Regions from separate parts of the Homo sapiens genome. Here all the other regions are linked to region 1. Evidence: promoter capture Hi-C in 16 types of primary human blood cells and fetal thymus (Javierre and others, 2016). All regions are on one chromosome and are shown on one strand. Each heading gives the region's core, a stretch centred on a gene start or on the middle of the fragment in contact. The rest is flanking DNA. Distances are from core to core; before and after follow the strand shown. Region 1 holds the start of ARHGAP1 (Rho GTPase activating protein 1). Region 2 holds the start of ACP2 (acid phosphatase 2, lysosomal). Region 3 overlaps NDUFS3 (NADH:ubiquinone oxidoreductase core subunit S3).

What was found. The method cuts DNA at HindIII sites, captures the fragments that hold promoters and counts their contacts. A CHiCAGO score of 5 or more calls a contact.
Region 2: a contact is called between the fragment with the promoter of ACP2 here and the fragment with the promoter of ARHGAP1 in region 1, in 1 of 17 cell types (total CD8 T cells). The highest score is 5.3, in total CD8 T cells.
Region 3: a fragment that was not itself captured here is called in contact with the fragment with the promoter of ARHGAP1 in region 1 in 1 of 17 cell types (neutrophils); the score reaches 8.0 in neutrophils.

What each region holds. Positions count from the first base shown.
Region 1 is chr11:46,698,583-46,703,005 of GRCh38, reverse strand. It overlaps ARHGAP1 (Rho GTPase activating protein 1), which reads left to right and starts at 2,387. Exons shown (of 13, transcript NM_004308.5): 1 at 2,387-2,455. It overlaps ZNF408 (zinc finger protein 408), which reads right to left and starts at 1,975. Exons shown (of 5, transcript NM_024741.3): 1 at 1,907-1,975; 2 at 1,330-1,607; 3 at 241-302; 4 at 1-22. The coding sequence starts at 1,958. RefSeq lists an enhancer at 1,892-2,181 and a silencer at 2,512-2,631. The HindIII fragment of the contact is 11,026 bases long and covers 1-4,423 here.
Region 2 is chr11:47,246,375-47,250,502 of GRCh38, reverse strand. It overlaps ACP2 (acid phosphatase 2, lysosomal), which reads left to right and starts at 1,689. Exons shown (of 11, transcript NM_001610.4): 1 at 1,689-1,827; 2 at 2,370-2,465; 3 at 2,776-2,862. The coding sequence starts at 1,714. It also overlaps a transcript of NR1H3 not described here. RefSeq lists a silencer at 1,246-1,413 and enhancers at 1,494-2,003, 2,134-2,223. The HindIII fragment of the contact is 7,782 bases long and covers 1,129-4,128 here.
Region 3 is chr11:47,581,259-47,585,298 of GRCh38, reverse strand. It overlaps NDUFS3 (NADH:ubiquinone oxidoreductase core subunit S3), which reads right to left. Exons shown (of 7, transcript NM_004551.3): 5 at 3,086-3,211; 6 at 2,831-2,950; 7 at 737-985. The coding sequence ends at 818. Among named protein-coding and RNA genes, the nearest start is that of FAM180B, 3.4 kb to the left of the region's middle. The HindIII fragment of the contact is 3,712 bases long and covers 856-4,040 here.

The sequences.
Region 1 (4,423 bases), core at 1,138-3,637:
CAGCCTGCCCCGTTGTACCAAGCTGCAAAGCAAAGTAACAGCCAGCTAGGAGATGCTCACTATTCAAGTGGTCTTCCCCGAAAGCCCCAGTCCCCAAGCAGTCTGGGTCCTAAAGGACGCCGTGCCTTTGGAACATTCACTGCAAAAGAGCACTGAATAGGAAATGACAGTCAGCACCGGGTTCCATCCCAAACCACAACAGAAAACCTCAAAGGAACGACACACTCTCCTCTGACTTACCTAGTCCAGCCAGAACTCTGCTCACAGGCACACACGTCTCCCCATGGGCCTAATGACAGGTTCTGAAATAAACCAACAAAAGTCCTTCTCAAATGTGTTCGAGGGGTCGGGTAGGAATAAAAAAAGAAACTAGATGAAACTTTCCTGGGACAAATTTAAGATGAAACTCCTGGAAGGTTAGAAGCCTCTGGTTCTCCTCTAACAGGACAGTGCTGTCTGATTCTTCATTCAGTAAGGACCAAAAAGTCTGTCTCCTCACCTCCCTCCCAAGGGTATGGAGAATTACTAAATTGAACACATTACTGTCTTCCAGTGAGTACTAAACAGAAAAAGTAATAAGGAACACCAGCTTTTTAAAATGGTATTTATTGGGCCAGGCGCGGGGGCTCACACCTGTAATCTCAGCACTTTGGGAGGCCCAGGCAGGCGGATTACTTGAGGCCAGGAGTTTGAGACCAGCCTCACCAACATGGTGAAACCCTGTCTCTACTAAAAATACAAAAATTAGCTGGGTGTGGTGGTGCACATCTGTAATCCCAGCTACTCGGGAGGCTGAGGCATGAGAATCACTTGAACCTGGGAAGTGGAGGTTGCAATAAGGCGAGATCGTGCCACTGCACTCCAGCCTGGGCGACAAAGCAAGACTGTCTAAGAAAAAAGAAAAATAAATAAAATAAAATGGTACTTATTGTGCAGTGAAACCTTTTATCTTCACTATTTCATCAGCTCCTCCATATAATCCCAAGAGAGCCACTGCTTTGTTTCACAGATGAATTAAATGCGGCACGTAATTTAACCAGCTAGGTGACAAAGCTGGAATTTGATCCCATGCTTTCTTAATTCCAAAAACCTTAGCTCTTGACCTTCCTCACTCACTGCTGACACTGTATGATTCCAGCTTTCAACAACTTTTCAAACCTCGATTCTTTAACTACTGCTGCTGAGAGGAGACAGTCCTGAAGAGAAGGGACAAGACTATCTCCTATCTCTTGAAATACTCTCTTTCTTCAAATTGAAAAGCTGTCTAGCAATGTCCAAACCTCCCCTACATTTTCAAGGGCGGAGGGAAGTCGCTCTATCCTTCAATACCTCCTCCTGCCGTGGCTTTACTCCCTCGCCCTTCTCCTTGGAGGCAGACTCCTCTTCCAGCGGCCCCCACAGCAGGCCGGGCTGCAGGGGGTCCCCGACACACCAGACCCCCAAGCGCTGTTCCTTGGCGAGTGAGGGGCCAAGGGCCAAGCCCCGGGGAAGGCTCTTTAAAGCGAGGATGTCTCGGGTCGGCTCGGGTGGGACGTCTTTGAGGCCCTGCGTACAGCCTTCTCCGGAAGGGTTCCATCCTAAGTCCAGGCCCAGGCGCGGCTCGCGGGCTGCAGAGAGAAGGGAAGACAGTGAGGGAGCCACCCAAGAAGGTGGGAGGTGGGGAAAAGTGTGGGAGGAAACCGCAGGTCCAGGTGGGCCTGCGGAGCCCGAGGGACAGGTGAGGGCTCTAAGGAGGGCCCTGAAAGTTTTGAGGAGGCTCAAGGGCTCTTCAGAAGCCCCCAGCGACTCTGAGGGCACTGGAGGATCCTGGGATCCGGAGGAGAGAAGACTGAGGAGAAAGCTGACCACAGAGCGTCAGATCCACCTGGGCCAAGGTTGAGGGTCGCGGACATCGCAGGTCACTCACCGAGTTGCAGCGCCTTCTTCCCCTCCAAGAGCAGCTCCTCCGCCTCCTCCATTCCGGGTCAGAAAGCCTCCCTACGCCGGAAGTGAGCTTCCTCTTCTCAGCTCCTCCAGGAAACAGTCACGGACTTCCAAATTTTTTTCTCAGGAAAGAAGCCTCAGAGCTGGACCTCATTGGTGCACAGGACTGGGAGTTTGGGAGTACTGGGGAGGCAGAACTCTGTCCGAGAGCAATGCGAACCTCGGATTCCGGAGGTGCACCAGTGATTCGACTAGCTGGGAAAGCGGAACTAATTGTTCCAGCCATCTCTTTGGGAGCGACGAGTCGGACAGTTATGCTGTTACCTCCCCGAGGCAGGAACTTAGGCGGGCATGTGCAGGAAGTGGGCGGGGCTCCTGGAAAGGCCATGTTTGGGGCCGGAAGTGGGTTGGAGGTGTGGCGGAAATGGTTGGGGATAGAAGAGAGCGGGAGGGGGCGGTTCCCGTTCCACCGCGGAGCCGGATGTTTGCCGAGCCTTGACAGGCGTGGCAGAGGGAGCAGTGCCCGAGCGCGGTGAGCTGCTGGGCGCGGGGTCTCCCCGGGTGGGGATGGGGAAAGGAAAGGAGCTGGCCAGGTCGTCCGAAGGGATGGGGTCCGGATGGGGAGGACCGGAGCAGATCCGAGGAGGGGAACGGGGGTGGAACTGGGCTCAGAGGCCTGGCCTTCCTGCAGGGTTTCTGCCCCATTTTGGCGCCTGCAATAAGAGGACTTAATCATTTTCACTACCTTCTTCCTGCCTTCCCCAGGGCAGAGTCCAGGCCGGATCGCTGTCATCCAGCAAGCCGGCGGGAGGGGGAAATCTCCCAGATCTGATCTGGCAAAGCACTAAGAAGAAGAAATTTGGGGGAAGTGTTCCTCCTTGCCACTTATTAGGCCACGCTTTCAGTTCAACTTATTTATTTTTTTAAGACGGAGTTTCACTCTTATTGCCCAGGCTGGAGTCTCGGTTCACTGCAACCTCCGCCTCCCGGATTCAAGCGATTCTCCTGCCTCAGCCTCCTGAGTAGCTGGGATTACAGGCGTCCGCCACCACGCCCGGCTAATTTTTGTATTTTTAGTAGAGACAGGGTTTCACCATGTTGGCCAGGCTGGTCTCGAACTCCTGACCTCGTGATCCTCCCGCCCCCGCCTCCCAAAGTGCTGGGATTATAGACGTGAGCCACTGCGCCCGGCCTCAGTTCAACTTCTTAATCTGTGAAACAGGATAATTGCAAAACGTAACCTGGGCTTTGTAAACCGTGAAGCTCTATGCAAACATAATTGTAGTTGAGAGTTGTAATTGCTGTTGTATTGTGGTGGGATTTGCAACTGGGAGGCCGATTCCAACGTTGAGAATATGATTTCTTTTCTTTTTTTTTTTTTAGACGGAGTCTCACTCTGTCGCCCAGGCTGGAGTGCAGTGGCGTGATCTCGGCTCACTGCAACCTCCGCCTCCCGGGTTCAAGCGATTCTTCTGCCTCAGCCTCCCAGGTAGCTGGGAGTACAGGCGCGCGCCACCACACCCGGCTAATTTTTGTATTTTTAGTAGAGATGGGGTTTCACCATCTTGGCCAGGTTGGTCTCCAAATCCTGACCTTGTGATCCGCCCGCCTCGGCCTCCCAAAGTGCTGGGATTACAGCCGTGAACCACCGTGCCCGGCTGGTCCTCTCTTTCCTCACTGTAAAATGAGCTTAGTAGAACATGCCTCATCAGTGCTATCGTGAGGTTGAGTTTGTGTCCCCAGTTCATGGTCCTATATAGGCCCTCAACAAGTGTGGGTTCCCTTCTTTACTTAGGAGATGAATTAATTGGTTCATTCATTCAACAAATGATAGCATCTACTATATATCAGGTGTCATTCTGAATAGACCAGAAGTTCTTAAACAGTGATTCTCAGAAGGTGTATGAACCTCTTAAAATTGCATACATCTCCTAAGTTTTCTTAGGGAAAAAGTCCACACATGTTACCAATTTCAGAAAAGTCTACAACTTCCTAAAAGTGATTGCCTAAGGTGATCCTTAAGATTTTTGTAAAGGTTTACCTGCTGAGAATGGAAAAATTAATCTCAGAGTTGGGTGTATTTTGCACAGAGTAGAGCAGGCTTGTGGGTGGCTGGTGTCTTAAACAGGCAGGATACTTCATTTCTACTACTTGATGTTAGAATTTCCCTGTGCTAGCTTCCTCACCCTCCCACTGAATGGGAGTTTAACTTCCAGGCTCAGAAGTTAAACTGTGGGTTGGGGGTAGTGGGAGGGGCCAGTCTGACTGGGAGATGGGAACCACTGGGCTTAGTTATGCTGGGAAAGGAGGTTATGTGGGGGCGTTGAGGGAGGTCATGTCTGGAAGAACTGACAGCATAGAAGAGCAGTCACTGGAAAAGAGGTGAAGTTCAAGTTCAGCTCCCTTTTAGATGGTGTCCTTCTCCCTCCTTCACATCCACCCCAGCTCCCAGCTGCTCCTTTTTTTTTTTTTTTTGAAACAGAGTTTTGCTCTTTTGCCC
Region 2 (4,128 bases), core at 440-2,939, 550 kb before region 1:
AATCCTGAAGTATATATAAATAATTGAATCTGGAGTCCTAGGACAAAATAAAGACAGATAATCCTGATCTTTTTTTTTCTTTTCTTCTTTTTGAGACACAGTCTTGCTCTGTCATCTAGACTGGAGTGCAGTTGCACCATCATGGCTCACTGCAGCCTCAACCTCCTGGGCTGAAGGTGATCCTCCCACCTCAGCCTCCCGAGGAGCTAGGACCACAGGTGTGTGCCACCACACCCAGCTAATTTTTAAACTTTTTTTTGTAGAGAGGAGATCTTCCTAAGCTGCTCAGGCTGGTCTCCAACTCCTGGGCTCAAGCAATCTTCCCACCCTGGCCTCCCAAAGTGCTGGGATTAGAAACGTGAGCCACCACACCAAGCCTAATCAGGTTTTTGTTGTTGTTGTTTTGAGACAGTCTCACTCTGTCGCGCAGGCTGGAGTGCAGTGGCGTGATCTCAGCTCACTGCAACCTCCGCTTTCCGAGTTCAAGCGATTCTCCTGCCTCAGCCTCCAGAGTAGCTGGGATTACAGGAGCACGCCACTGCACCCGGCTAATTTTTTTTTTTTTGTATTTTTAGTAGAGACGGGGTTTCGCCACGTTGGCCAGGCTGGTCTCGAACTCCTGACCTCAGGTGATCTGCCTGCTTCGGCCTCTCAAAGTGCTGGTATTACAGGTGAGCCACGGCGCCCAGGCCAAGCCTGATCAGTTTTGTTTCCCAAAGATCTGAGGAGATTTGCTTCCAGTAGGCAGATCTGAATCAAAGCATCCCCAGGACCTATGATCTGACCTGCAACCGTCACAGGAGTCACAAAGTCCTGAGGCCAAACTGGCTGCACCTGAATCCTAATGGTCAATGCCAAGAGGGCCATTGATTCTGTGGAAACCCCACCTACTCCCACTTTATGATATGCGCCTGTCCCTTACCTCAAAATACCTCCCCACTGGTCTGAAATTCCTCCCCCAGGGATTCAGTGCTTTGGGTTTGTAAAGTCTGAACATCCTGTGCAACCCAACTCCTTTGGGAAGAGGCATGACATGACGTCTTGACTCTAATTAACTAAAACTTGGAAGTGGAGGGGAGGGAGGACAGGGAAAGGACTGGAAGGGAAAGTGAGAGGGCTACTGAAGCTTTGTGCAGGGCAGGAACGGTAGGCCAGACTGGGGCAACCTCAAGGACACACGGAGTCCAAAGGGTTGTTTACATACTGTGTCCTGCACCCCAAGCAAAACATCTCCTGGAGAACAGGGCCAGGGCTCAATCTCCCCACAAAGGCAGGGGCGTGGAGAGAAGCGACCTCTACTTTCCCATCCCTCGCCTCAATTCTGCACCCGATCTAGCTATGGGGTCAAGCCTGGAGGGGACGCTGGTTCTCCAGACATGGTCCCGCCCACTGCAAGTGCCACCTTGGTAAGGGATTTCTCCGAGCAGAGGCAAACGCGAATTTGTGGCCTTCTTAATCAAGATGAGGTCTTCGAGCCCTGTCTGCCGCGCCAGGTCGCGTTACCTTCTTATGCTCCTCCGCCACAGCCAGACCACGACCCTCCTGCACGCAATCCCACCGAGACTGCGCCTTTTCCCCGCACCCCAGCAGGTCCCTAAGTAAGATGGCGGCGAACGCACTTCCGGCGTGTGTCCTTACGGGTGCGTCCGGGCGGCTGCTTGCAGGTGCCACCCAGCGGGTTCCAGCTTGTTTGCTGCATAGATTACAACGGTGATGGCGGGCAAGCGGTCCGGCTGGAGCCGGGCGGCTCTCCTCCAGCTCCTTCTCGGCGTGAACCTGGTGGTGATGCCGCCCACCCGGGCCCGGAGTCTGCGCTTCGTTACCTTGGTAATGAGAGATGGGCTCACCAAAGACTTCCCTGAAGCTAAAAGGGCAAAGGCCAGCTGGTGGAGGTCGAGGATCTCGGGAAGGAACAGCTGGTTTAGGAGGGGACGACTGGCCTGGGTAGTTGGGAGGCTGGATTCAGGATTGACCTGGAGCCCTGGCTTATGGGAGTCAGGATGACCGAATACGTCGGGGTGAGTCTGCCTTGAGACAGGGAAGTGGTTGAATGGTTAAGACTCATCCCTAAAGAAGCCTTTGGTTATCTTTTTTCCCCAGTTGTCCCCACCACATACGTTGCTTTCACTTCTCTTTTCCCTTCCTACCTGTACCTTGGCTTTGCCTATGGTCTCCAGTAGCATTGCTTAGCTAAGTTAGAATCTCTGGAATCTGGAAGAAGTGACTGACTCCTAGCTGGGGTCTTTTGCAGCCAGTAGGCTTCCCAGAGGGAATGAGACTTCCTTCCCTAACATGGGGCAAAAGGTAGGCTCTGGGTCCCTATCAAGGGGATGCTTCTGACCTATAGGCAAACCATTTTATTCTCTCAGCTGTACCGCCATGGAGACCGTTCACCAGTGAAGACATATCCCAAGGACCCCTATCAGGAAGAAGAATGGCCCCAGGGGTTTGGTCAGTTAACCAAGGTGGGTCAGAAGCCAGCCTTTCCTCAGGATGAGCTGCAGAATGAGCGACGTCTAGAGCAGTCTACAAAACTTGGGGTCCTACTAAACTGCCTTTTCCCATATGGGTGCTGACTTTGACCAGATTTCATAACCTTAATCTCTGTGCCCATGATATTGCTGTGCATGACTGGCCACTTAATGAAAGACTTCTGGGATCAGATTAATTGACTCCAGCAAAGCGTGAACCTGGAAAGCAACAGGGCCTAAACCCCATGGGGCTTGAAGCCACCCCTTCCCTCTAGACCCTCTTAACCCTTGGGTTTGCCCACAGGAGGGGATGCTACAGCACTGGGAACTGGGCCAGGCCCTGCGGCAGCGCTATCACGGCTTCCTAAACACCTCTTATCACCGGCAAGAGGTAAGGTTGGGAGCTCCAGAGGCAAGGGGAACAAGGTATGCTGCCCTCATCTTTTGCCCTCAGGGAGCCTAAGGCTGAGGCTGGGCACTTTGGCCTCCTTCTTGTATTTTTGGTCACAACTACAGGAAAAGACATCTGAGAGCTGTCTGGAACAAAGCCCTAGGAGCTGAGTTGCCCCTGCTTGGCTGGGATGAGGCAAATTTGATTAAGCATCCAAATTCGGACTTAAGGGCGGGCCTGGCAAAGTGGTTTCTGACTGTGAAATCACAGGCTTTCCATCCAAGACATTGAGTACCTATTAAAGGCCAAGGACTGTGCTAGCACTTTGCATTCAGTTGTGCACCATACAGATATGATCTCTGTCTTCATGGAGCTTAGAATGTTGTGGGGGTATCTAATGATAAACCAGACAGGGCCAAGATGAAAGACAGCGGGGAAGACATGCGTAGAGAGGGCTTGTCTTTTCTTGATCAAGATGAGGTTTTTGAGCCCTGTCTGCTGCGCCAGGTCGTGCTATATTCCTAGGGCACATCAGGGAGGACTGGTGAGTGTGCCTGCTCCTTGAGTCTTCGCCCCACCCCAGGAATGGGGGAAGCTGTTCCTCTGATTACCACTGTCAGCCTCAGCCGTATCAAGAATCCATAGACATTGTTATTGTTCTCTTAAGGCCCAGCTCTGTCCTGAGCTTGTCCTTCCCCAGTTTCCTCCTCCCTTTTCATGAGCCACTATCTCTGAATAAGCTCTTCAAAAAAAATTTTTTTTTTTGAGACAGAGTCTTGCTGTGTTGCTCAGGCTGGAGTGCAGTGACATGGTCTTGGCTCACTGCAACCTCCACCTCCTAGGTTCAAGCGATTCTCCTGTCTCAGCCTCCCAAGTAGCTGGGATTACAGGTGTGTGCCACCATGCCTGGCTAATTTTTGTATTTTTAGTAGAGACAGGATTTCATCATGTTGGCCAGGCTGGTCTTGAACTCCTGACCTCAGCTGATCCGCCTGCCTCGGCCTCCTAAAGTGCTGGGATTACAGGCATGAGCCACCGTGCCCGGCCCAAAATATATACATATATTTTAAAGGGGTCTCACTCTGTCACCCAAACTGTAGCACATGCCTCAGTCATAGCTCACTGCAGCCTCAAACTCCTGGGCTCAAGTGATCCTCCTGCCTCAGCATCCCAAGTAGCTGGGACTACAAGTGCCCGCCACACTTGGGTAATTAAAAAATTTTTTTTTGTAGAGACAGGGTCTCACTATGTTGCCCAGGCTGGTCT
Region 3 (4,040 bases), core at 1,462-3,961, 880 kb before region 1:
TCTTTAGTCCCATTAAAATAGACCTCCGGCTGAGTGTGGTGGCTCACGCCTATAATCCCAGCACTTTGGGAGGCCAGTGTGGATCATTTGAGGCCAGGAGTTCGAGACCAGCCTGGGCAACATGGTGAAATCCCATCTCTACAAAAACTATAAAAACTAGCTGGGCGTGGTGGCGTGCATCTGTAATCCCAGCTTCTTGGGAGGCTGAGGGGGGAGAACCGCTTGGGCCTGGGAGGTGGAGGTTGCAGCGAGCTGCGACAGCACCACTGCACTCCAGCCTGGGTGACAGAGCGAGACTCCATCTCAAAAAAACATAAAAGAGCTGGTCACAGTGGCTCACGCCTATAATTCCAGCACTTTGGGAGGCCGAAGCAGACAGATCACCTGAGGTCAGGAGTTCAAGAACAGCCTGACCAATATGGAGAAACCCCGTCTTTACTAAAAATACAAAATTAGCCAGGTGTGGTGGCACACACCTGTAATCCCAGCTACTCGGGAGGCTGAGGCAAGAGAATTACTTGAACCCAGGAGGCGGAGGTTGTGGTGAGCCGAGATCACGCCATTGTACTCCAGCCTCGGCAACAAGAGCGAAACACTGTCTCAAAAAAAAAAAAAAAAACCCATCAAAGACTCCCTGGTTTAGTAGTGCCTCTCTAAGAGAGCAGGGAAACACCCCTGCCTGCCTGTGTCCCCCCCAAAGCATCACTTCTCCACATTACAAGCACACACAAAGTGGTAAGTCTAAGTAGGAATTTATTTACACGGACACTCAATCATAGATAAGGCGCTGTCTAGGATCCACATGCGTTCCCTGGAGCTACTTGGCATCAGGCTTCTTGTCTCCGGCTTCAAGCTTGAGACTCTCCGGGGGTTGGCGATAGACTGGGAAAGCCTCCCAGGGGCTGTTCAGGTCAAATTTGCGGAACTCTTGGGCCAACTCCACCGGCTCTGCCACCACCCGCTTCACTTCATCATCATAACGTAACTGCAGGAGCAAAAGGCAGGCTTGAGCACTAAGGAAGTCCTTATTATAGCTACACAGGAGCCTACTTTTCACAAGGCTATTGGTGACTTCCCCAGCCCATTCCTCTCGGTTACTGACTCCTGTCCCAGCCTCTGTCAGTAAGTCTCCATCCATACCTGTGTTACCCGTCAGATCACATCCCAACCAGCTAGAGTGTGTGATTCCAAAATGTAGGATACCTCTCATGCCCTGCCAGCACCAGTCAGATTCCCCTGCTCACCACTCCCACATCAGGAGCTCCGAACTGACTGCTCACCCACCCACACACTCTTACAAGGTAATGGTAAGCATTTGCCCAGGATTAGGGAGTAGTCGGTGGCTGAAAAGAGTAAACCTAAACTGGCAGATACACAACCTCAGGCCCGGTGCCCTTGGCATATTCACAGTCCAGATCTAAAGCAGTACATTTGACACAGCTTTTCTTGTTACTTGGGGATCAAATGGATAAGGTAAGGATCATCAGGTGCTAGAGTGAAGAGGCAAACCAGGTGAGGCAGATAGCAGGAGTGGGGTGAAAGGGAGAAGCGAGGGAGATAGCCCTGCCCAGAAGTAGCCCAAGAGGGAAATAGGAGCATGCAAAGCACTAACACAGCAGGAGTGACTGGGAACTAAAAGAGCAGGGCTGGAGCACCACATCTCTGCATTTCTAAACAGTTACTTTGCTATAAAATTCACGAGTGATAATATTACACACTATCTTCCTGCAAATAACCTGCAGCACCACTGAAATTCTTTATTCACGTTACTGGTCCCACCTCAGAGGTAATTTTTGAGGGCTAAGCATCTGGTGTCTTCCCCGTCACTGCCTTCCCAGAGAGTCAGGGCAGGGTAAAATAATCCTCTACTTTCAGGTTTTAGGGACAGACTGTGTCGTCAAGGCTGCCTTGATCATTAAAATGATCATTACAATAATGGATAACACTGGCCAGGTGTGGTGGCTCACACCTGTAATCCCAGCACTTTTGAGAAGCTGAGGCGGGCAGATGACTTGAGCCCAGGAATTCGAGACCAGTTTGGGCAACATGGAGAAACCCCGTCTCTACAAAAAATACAAAAATTTGCTGGGCATGTTGGTGCATGCCTGTAGTCCCAGCTACTCGGAGGGCTGAGAGGTGGGAGGATTACTTGAGCCTGGGCGGTCAAGACTGCAGTGAGCCATGATCGCACCACTGCACTCCATCCTAGGTGACAAGAGTGAGACCCTGACACACACACACACACACAGCATCAATTGAGCCTTTACAATACAGCAGGCTTCATACATCATTTATTTATTTAGAGACAGGGTCTCACTCTGTTGCCCAGGCTGGAGAGCAGTGGCGTGATCTCGGCTCACTGCAACCTCCGCCTTCTAGGCTCAAGCGATCCTCCCACCTCAGCCTCTTGAGCAGCCAGGACCACAGGAATGCACCACCATGCCCCGTTAATTTTTCTATTTTTTTGTAGAGAAGAGGTTTCACCATGTTGCCTAGGCTGTTCTCGAACTCCTGGACTCAAGCACTCCTCCTGTCTTGGCTTCCCAAAGTGCTGGGATTACAGGCGTGAGCCTACACATACATTATTTAATGCCAGCCACAAATCTATTAAAGTGCTATTATTATTGCCATTTTAAGATGAGAAAACTGAGTTACAGTCAAACCAAGTAACTTGCCCCAGGTTACAAAAATGAAGCTAGGATCTGAATCCAGGGCCCATGCTCTTAAACCACCACAATCCACAGACCGTATTTCTTGCCATTCCCAGGGATCCCCTGGGTTCTCTGCAAGTCCCTCCCTGAGGCTGCTGTCCCAGTTCCAAGGCTCCTACCTCAACATAGCCAGATAGAGGAAAGTCTTTCCGGAAAGGATGTCCCTCGAAGCCATAATCTGTCAGGATCCTTCTTAGATCAGGGTGGTTAGCAAAGAAGACTCCAAACATGTCCCAGATCTAGGAAAGAGACCACCTCAAACAGCCAATCCATCAAGACTAACAACAGGGGGAAGGGGCTACACTGCATCCCGTAGTCTGAACCAGTTCTGCAACTGTGGCCCAGAGGCAGGTCCACCATATCCGGTAACTCACCTCCCTTTCATACCAGTTGGCTGCCTTGAACACAGAGACAGCAGACTCAATGGGCGTCAGCTCATCTGTGTAGGTCTTCACACGGATCCGTGAGTTGAAGCGCAGAGACAACAGGTTGTAGACAATCTAGGGAGAACAGAAGGATCTGGAGGGCTGAGATGGGAGTCCCTGATTGGGAGAGTTCTGCCCTGTGACCCTGCCTTCTATTCTGAACCTCAAAACCTCAAGATTCTCCTATGCTTACAACTACTTCCAAAGGCCCAGGCCACAGCTGTAGCTTAGCATGTCAGCATGCCTGTGTTTGCTCATGCTATTCACTTTGTCAGGAATATTTCCCTGGTCCATCTCACAAGGCTACCTGGTCTCCTACTCATATTTTAGATTCAGCACAAACATTCTCTCTTTTCAAAGAAGCCTCCCAGACAGGGCCAAGTGCCCCTCCTGCTTTCTTAAAGCATCCCTCTAATATCCTTTGTATTATATGTTACTACAGTAAGCTGTTTAGGTGTCTTTCTCCTTCACTAGAGTGTAGGGGACTCCTGGAGGACAAATACTTCATGTTATTTCTCTCTCCATCCCAGAGTCTGGCAAACAGTAGATAATCAGTAAAATATTAATAGCTAAATGTATTGAAAACACTGTGTGCAAGCAATTTACTTGAACTATCTCATTGGATCCTTATAACCATTCTATAAGATAAGGACAGCTTTATATTTATTTTCCCGGTAAGAAAATGAAAGCTCAGAAAGATTAAACAAGGGCCGGGCATGGTGGCTCATGCCTGTAATCCCAGCACTTTGGGAGGCCAAGGCAGGCAGATCACGAGGTCAGGAAATTGAGACCATCCTGGCCAACATGGTGAAACCCAGTCTTCACTAAAAAAATACAAAAAATTAGCCGGGCGTGGTGGCATGCACCTGTAGTCCCAGCTACTCAAGGGGCTGAGGCAGGGGAA